2 separate regions of the Homo sapiens genome follow, and region 1 is linked to region 2. The links are contacts of gene promoters, found by promoter capture Hi-C in human tissues and cell types (Jung and others, 2019). All regions are on one chromosome and are shown on one strand. The core of a region is centred on a gene start or on the middle of the fragment in contact, and the rest is flanking DNA. Distances in the headings are between cores, read along the strand shown. Region 1 overlaps CFAP45 (cilia and flagella associated protein 45). Region 2 holds the start of SLAMF8 (SLAM family member 8).

Region 1 (3,882 bases), core at 1,246-3,745, 65 kb before region 2:
GCACACTAAAAGGGTCTTGGGAGAGAAACAGCCAAATAGTGGGTATTATGAACTGGTTTGCTTGATTATAGCTAGTAATCATTTATCATTCACCCACTGCCTCAAGTTTATTGGGCATCAACCACATGCCAAGCAGTGGGTGAGGCACTTTTCCATCCTTTATATCCTGTGGTCCCACCATAACCTTGTAAGATTGTGGAGACACGAAGGAGGTCAAACAGTAGCGTCATTTGTGAGAAAGACTTGAAGCACAAGCTGAAAAGATTGGAGGCAAAGGGGACACTGTGCGTGTCTCAGGGGGCAAGCCCAAGTTGCCCCACAAGAGATTGTCCTCTTGGGAAACTGGTACTAGGCAGATAATGAGAAACTGTTGCTTCTCTCCTCCTGCCATTCCTGCTTCCTTTATCCTTACTTCCATACTATGTGGCCGACTTGGCCTTCAGCTTCAGGGACTACAGAAATGCTCTTAAAAAAACCCCACAAAAAACAAAACAGTTTTGTTTTTAATTGACACATAATGATTGTACACATTTATGGGGTATAGTGTGATGTTTTGATACATGTATATACATTGTGTAATGATTGAATCAGGGTAGTTAGCATATCCATTACCTCAAACACTTGTCATTTCTTTGCAGTGAGATCACTCAAAATTCTCTCTTCTAGCTAGTTTGAAATATACAATGTAAATTAATATACATTGTATACATGTATATTTATATATATTATTGTATACATGTATATTAATATACATTTATATATAGTAATATACATTATTGTTAACTCTAGTCATTCTATTGCGCTATCAAATACTAGACCTTGCCATCTCATTTAATCTTATAACATTTATATTTCTCAAAATCCTCTCCTAGATATTGTGTATCTCTTTTGAGATATACAGTACATTATTATTAACTATAGTGGCCTTTCTGTGCAATAGAGCACCAGAACTTATTCCTCCTATCTAACTGTAACTGCGCACTCACTGACCAACCTCTCCCCATGCCCCTCCCCTTCCTCTCTTCAGCCTCTGGTAACCACCATTCTACTCTGTACTTCTATGAGATCAACTGTTTTACACAAATGCTGCTTTATGCAGAGCTCTTTTTTTTGCAGAGACCCTTCCCTGCTCTGTGGGGATGCCCTCCATCTGTTGCTCCTTGTCCCCTATGGTTCAGAGTTTACACAGCCGCTTTCCCTAACTGTTTCTTTTTCACATGCCCACCCACTCCCCCAGCATGGGCTGGTGAATTGTTGACTTCCCAGGGTCTGGATGCCACTCAGTACTGATGACCCAAACTTTCTGCCTCTTCCTGCAGCCACTAAGCACAGCTGGCATCCTGAGCTCCTCTTCTGCCGCTTCCAACAGGTCAAGGAATAAGGCTCGCTATCGGACCAAAGCCGTGAGCTCTGAGGTGGATGAGAGCCTCTTTGGAGATATCAAGGTAATCCTCAACAAGTCCTTTCAAGTTGATGCCACCTGCAGGCAGAGGCCCAAAAATGTAGCTCAGGGCAAAGCTTCTGCTGAGTAACCTTGCTCTCGTAGGTAACTCTCAGACTGAAGACAAAGGGGAATTCTGAGACCTGAGCTGCAGAGCTTTGGGATCTAGTGGGGCCTATGTAAACAGGGACACCTAGCTTCTTCCACCCTAGAATCTCTCATGTCTTCACAGTGTTTAAAATCTGTTATAATGTCAAAAGGGAGGCTCAGCTGCAGAGAGTGCAATAGTTGCTCAGTTGAGCTCCATGATGGAAACATTGCAGGGCTGATGGGCTAAGCTTGCAGACAATAGCAACATCTTCCCCGCTCCATCCAAGGATAATAGCATCAGAGTACAACACAAAACCATCCTCCTTTCCCAGTTGCTCAACTAAAACAATTACTTAGCTTTGGGAAACGAGCAGGTCTTTATTTGCAAGTGTTATCTAGACCAAGAGGTGGACAACTCCTTTAGTCTAGATAAAGAGAGCTAGATAGTAGAGCTTTGACTGATTTTGGTACATATGGAGTTTAGTAGGTAAGAAGGAAGAGAGGGAAGGAGAAAAAGAGAATATGACATGGAGAGAAGGGCAGTGAGAGATTAAGAGAAGGGGAAAAGAGAAAGAGAGACACTAGTAGTGACCTGAATGCCTCTGCCAGTGGGGAAGGTGGGGAGAGGAGTGTTGATGTCTGTCCCTGCTCTTCAACATCTTCATTGTGAATTGAAGAGGACTCTCCAGAGGGATTGAGATAGGCTTCTTAATCCATTTAGAAGACTCTCACTCTGCAGCAGTTTTCCTGTTGGTAAGGGAAAGGATCAACAGATGCATTTATTTTTTATTATTTTTTTAAAGATAGGGTTTCACTCCTGTCACCCAGGCTGGAGCTGGAGTGCAATGGTACAGTCTCGGCTCACTGCCACCTCCACTTCCCAGGCTCAAGTGATTCTCCTGCCTCAGCCTCCCAAGTAGCTGGGACTACAGGTGCACACCACTGCACCTGGCTAATTTTTGTATTTTTTGTAAAGACAGGGTTTCATCATGTTCCCCATGCTGGTCTTGAACTCCTAAGCTCAAGCAATCTGCCCACCTCGACCTCCCAAAGTGCTGGGATTACAGGCGTAAGTCTCCCCACCTGGCCAAAATGCAATTTCACTTACAGACATTTGTATTGTTGTTGTTGTTTTGGGTACATGTGGAGTTTTCTAGTCAAAGCAAAGAGAGATTTGGAATTGGCTGAGTTCTCCAGGAGTAGTCATGCTGGCTGGCAAAAGGGGGCTATCAGAAAAATGCTTGTCTCTTGTCCAGTTTCTTTGGCCTCATTGATGGGTAAGAGTTCAGGAAGTCTCTCAATGGGCAGTAGAGGGCAGAAGTGGCCTGTGGCACGACTGAGTTGTGCCCACGTGAAAGCAGAGATGGGCACCAGGTGGCAGCAGCACACAGGGGACTGTGGGTGCAAAGTGAGGTAGGACAAGTGGGGCCATCCCCCTGCCTCTGGTCAGGAGCACAGTGGCTGCATTAATGACACATCCTTTCCTGTGTTTAGACATTTTCTGAAACAGGTGATTTCATTTAATTGTTATCTAACTCCTTCAGGGTCGGAGAATTTTGAAAAAAAGAAAAAATCACACAGTTAGTCTGTGTTCTTGCTGAATTCTAACTCACTGACCTCCTCACCACCAACTCAATGAGCTGGCAGAGAGCTACCCTTAGATCTTAAGGGTAGGCCTCTGCAGGTCATTTAGCGATTTCTAACTCCCTGAATATGGCTTTTTGTGGGGGTTAAAGTAATTTAATCGTAAGAAAGAATTTAAAATTACCAATATCAAAGATTGTAAGAGTCTGTAACAAATTATATTGCTTCAAACCCACTGTGTGGTCCTAGAGAGATAATTATTTCTTCTTTCATAAAGGAAAATCTTTCATGGAGAGAGGAAAACCTAGAGAACAGAAATTTACTTTAATTCCTGATGATTTTAGACTAAGTATAGACACACACTAGTGACCCCCACTCCTTGTTATCCCTACCATTCTGCGAGGAATATCTGTATAAGAACAAGAGACTTGTTTTCAGAAAAGCTGGTCAGGGCTGGGCATGGTGGCTCACGCCTGTAATCCCAGCACTTTGGGAGGCCCAGGCGGGCGGATCATCTGAGGTCAGGAGATTGAGACCAGCCTGGCCAACATGGAGAAACCCCGACTCTACTAAAAATACAAAAATTAGCCAGGCATGGTGGTGGTCGCCTGTAATCCCAGCTACTCAGGAGGCTGAGGGAGGAGAATTGCTTGAACCCGGGAGGTGGCGGTTGTAGTGAGCCAAGATCGTGCCACTGCACTCCAGCCTGGGTGACAGAGCAAGACTCTGTCTCAAAAAAAAAAAAAAAAAAAGAAAAGAAAAGCTGG
Region 2 (3,981 bases), core at 1,410-3,909:
TGTTAAGCTGAGCCTTGAAGAGGAATGGGAATCAGCCAGGCCAAGCCGAGGGCGGCCTGGAGCAGGATAGGGAAGTGTCACCGGCAGAGGGCACAGTACTGACAAAGGCCTGGAGGGGGAGAGTTGGTGCCCAGGGGAACTGAGAGTAGTTCTCTGTGTGAGGAGTAGGAAATTACACTGCAGAGTTGGTAGGAGTCAGATCATGCAGAGACCTGAAAGCAATACTGGAGTTTGGGCTTTATCTGTAGAGCAATGGGGCGTCTCAGGTAGGTTTTAAGCAGGAGCGTAACAGGATTAGATGCATGGTTAGAAAGATCACTCCAGCAGGGATGTGGAGAATGCACTGGAGGTGGGCAGGACTTAGGCTGTTCATGTTAGTCCAGTGGAGAAGTGACGGCAACTTGAATTGAGGAAGGGAGCAACCGGGATGGGAAGAAGTGGGAGGAATTGAGAAACACGAAGATGGTGTGTAATCAGTAGGATTTGGTAATAGATTAGCTCTGGGGAGTGAAGGAGAAAAAGGAGTCGAGGACGGCTCCCAGGTCCTTGGGATCCACTGGATGTTATTCTCTGTGATCCAGAACAGGAGGAGAAACAGACAGGGGGTGAGAAAGCAAGATGCTGTTTTGGGGGACTATATTTGAGTCAGACGTGTATGGGAGACGCTTCTCCTTGAAGTGCCCCCCTGACTCCTTTGCTGACTAATTTCTGCCCACTCTTGTAGCATCACTGCCTCCTCCGACCTCCCCTATCCCTCATAGGTAATGTAACCAAGAGAGGTTACATATTCTCTCTTGTGTTCTCACAGTGGCCTGGGGCCACCATGCTGACTACCCTTATCCCTCTATTCTTATTGCCTGTTTATGAGTCAGCATCTCCCACTAGACCGTGAGCTCTTTCTCCCCATCGTTTGCTTCCAGTGCCCACCACTGTTTAAGAACAGACTGTGGGAGAAGCCTAGTAAATGGTATTGAATAAATGACCTACCCTGCTGAGGACTGACCCTATGCCTGTCGCTGGCACAGGGTGTAGGGAAGAATAAGAGGTGATGAAGTTTTGGTCAATGAGACATGATCTGGATGGTTGCTCAGTCGGCCATGATAATTCCGGTCCCCCTCTGCCTCACTGTCCTCCAGGCCCAACAACCTCCTCTCACACTGGAGATGACTTCAGTGTTAATGCAGAGCAGGAATGTAACACACAAAGAGAATTGCACTGGATGTCAGCCAAGACCTAGCTGCTCCTACCTGCTCCTCCTGGTGCTGCCACAGATCAGCTGTGTGCCCTTCCACACATCACCCTGCCCCAGGCTTCAGTACCACTGAAAAATAAGGGGTCTGTACCAGGTCAGTCACACAGATCTTTGATCATTAAGGGCCATTTGAAAAATTATTTTTGGGCTGGGTGTGGTGGCTCATGCCTGTAATTCCAGCACTTTGGGAGGCTGAGGAGGGCGGATCACTTGAGGTCAGGAGTTTGAGACCAGCCTGGTCAACATGATGAAACCCTGTCTCTACTAAAAATACAAACATTAGCCGGGTTTAGTGGCAGTGACCTGTAATCCCAGCTACTCAGGAGGCTGAGACAGGAGAATCGCTTGAACCCAGGAGGCAGAGGTTACAGTGAGCTGAGATGCACCATTGCATTCCAGCCTGGGTGACAGAGCAAGACTCCGTCTCAAAGAAAAAAAAAAAAGGCAAATTATTTTTGTCTCACCAAACAGACCAAGGCCTTTTTTGAGGTTAAGGTGTGATTTCCTGCACATGTTTAGAAATATTGAAGAAATCTGCAGGCTTTGGAGCTCTCAGGGCCAGGAACTCAGGCAAGGAGATGAAACAAAGCAACCCAAAGTCCCTATGAGCCTCTGATGTAAACAATATCATCTTAATCTTTGCTGCACCCCATAAACCCTCATCCATGGCCCGGCAGTGTTGACCCATGTCATGTTGGCTGCTTGTTGACCAAGGAAGGGAACTCAGGCATCAGATGGATAGAGGGATCGCCCGGTGTGGAGGAGACCCCGTGTATCAGCCATCCCAACATCACACCACCGTCGGCCACCCCTAAGTCCACGTGGGCCACATTTAGCCTCTCTCATCCCTACTTAGTACTTGCCTCCCCTTATAAAGGCCTGTAGGGAGGGACCTCAGCTCCCCCACAGGCTGTTGAAAACACACTCTGCTGATTGTGGGGAACCCTGCTCTGCCCTGCCCTCTGCTACTCTCCTCAAACTCTGCAGAGTTTCTGCATGCTAACACTGCCGGGTCCTCACCATTCTCACAGCCGACTTTCTCTCCAAACCAGCAGTATCACCCACTGGCTCCGTTTTTACTGCTCTGGGCCACAAAACAGCTCATGTCTCACAGATAAGAATACCCCTCAAGCTGCCACCTCCTCCCTCCCAGGACCCTGCATCTCTTTGTATCTGCCTAGCTTAAAATGTTGCCCAAGAGCTTGTTCTAGTCTTTCCTACCCACCCTCAGCTTCTGGGTTCTCACCCAGGTCGAGGGATCCCTGCCCAGACGTCTGGCATAGGCAGCTGGGGAGGGGCCTTCAGCTCTCCGAGGACAGGCTATCTGCCTGCCCCACTTACCTTCCCAGAGAAGCAGACTCCACAGGGGCCTCATGACCATCTTTCTCTGGAGAGGCAGGCAAACTCCCTCGACAGCCAAAATCCAGAACCTCCCAGGCCGAGTGGATGCACGGGAGGAGCTGTGGTCCTTCTGGAAAGTCCCATGTTCAGAAGGAGGAATCTTGACTCAGAACAGGATGTCCCAAAAGTGAAAACATCCAGAATAAAGTGGAAGTTGTCCCTGGGCCTCTCTGGGCTTACAGGAGCAGATTCTTGTAAGTCAGCCTCTTTCACATGCACATGGTTGGCTAACACGTGGCGACAACAGCCCCCACACAAGCCACATCCTCCTTGCTGGATCTCGCTGGCCTTCCTGCATCTCAGCCTGCCTCACTACTATCTGTCATCCTCATTCTAGCTTAAAATGCTTCTGTGGCCTCCCGTGGACCTGAGGATGAGGACTAACTCTGCTCTGCATGCAGGCCCTCCTGAGTCAGGCCTTCTTCTCCAGGCTGGTCGCCCACAGTCATTCTGCCCTCCAGCCATCCCAAGCCAGAAGGCCTCCTTCTCAGAACTACTGATTTCACACTTCCCTGTGTTGTACTTTCCCCACCACCCCGACTAGGCATGCTGCTCCCTCTATCCTTGCAAACAGAACATGGCTGTGCAGTCGGCGAGGACATCCTTCCAGGCTTCCTGACCACAGGCAGGTGAGAGGCCCTCTCCTTGTGTCCTGTGCATGCCCACACCTCCCTCTTTACTCTTGCTGTGTTGTTGATGACAGTTTTCTGGTTTTCACAGACTGTTTAGCCAGTCTTTTGTTCCCTTCTGTGTTGCCCTCAGTGCTTGGCACATTACAGATGTTTCATGAGTATTTGTTAAGTGAGTGAGTACATTCTAGACATGGCTACACATCTGGCTTTATGTAAGCCTTGCAACTCTCCTCTGAGAGGATCATCTTGTTACCTGGTTAGAAATGGGAAAATGTGAAAACCAGAGTGAGGTTAGGCCCCTTGCAGAGCTCACAGAGAGGCAGAGCTGGAACTTGAACCTCAGCCTTTGAAGTGTGGTCTATTTTGCCACAGTTATCCCCTCCTCATCCTGTTTCTCTTCTCACTTCAAGTTTCTTGGTTTCTTGCCAGTGAAGGTTTTTAGAGGACGTGTTGCCCCTGAGGAAAATTCCTGCTAGTCTGGAGTGTGGCTCATCGTATCTGGTCCTGCACAGCCTCTCGCCTGTCAATCAAACTGGACACTGAGCTTTGGACTCAGCCAGGAACTAGGCATATAGGATGGGGTGGGGGTGGGTGGTGAGCAGGAGGATTTTGGGATAAGGTTTTTGCCCTCCAGGTACTCACAACCAAAATGTAGAGATAGGTACACCAAGGAAAGTGAAGGGTTATCTGCAGACA

What was found. Contacts are between HindIII fragments. The study calls those that stand out against the background at their distance.
Region 1: a contact is called between a fragment that was not itself captured here and the fragment with the promoter of SLAMF8 in region 2, in 18 of the 25 tissues and cell types used here (H1 embryonic stem cells, IMR-90 fibroblasts, adrenal gland and 15 more).

The regions. Positions count from the first base shown.
Region 1 is chr1:159,890,743-159,894,624 of GRCh38, reverse strand. It overlaps CFAP45 (cilia and flagella associated protein 45), which reads left to right. Exons shown (of 12, transcript NM_012337.3): 2 at 1,320-1,445. It overlaps LOC124904434 (a long non-coding RNA gene), which reads right to left. Exons shown (of 3, transcript XR_007066678.1): 2 at 2,124-2,278; 3 at 1,399-1,480. Among named protein-coding and RNA genes, the nearest start is that of MIR4259, 7.4 kb to the left of the region's middle. The HindIII fragment of the contact is 4,491 bases long and covers 250-3,882 here.
Region 2 is chr1:159,825,551-159,829,531 of GRCh38, reverse strand. SLAMF8 (SLAM family member 8) reads right to left here and starts at 2,659. Exons shown (of 5, transcript NM_020125.3): 1 at 2,594-2,659. The coding sequence starts at 2,633. The HindIII fragment of the contact is 29,109 bases long and covers 1-3,981 here.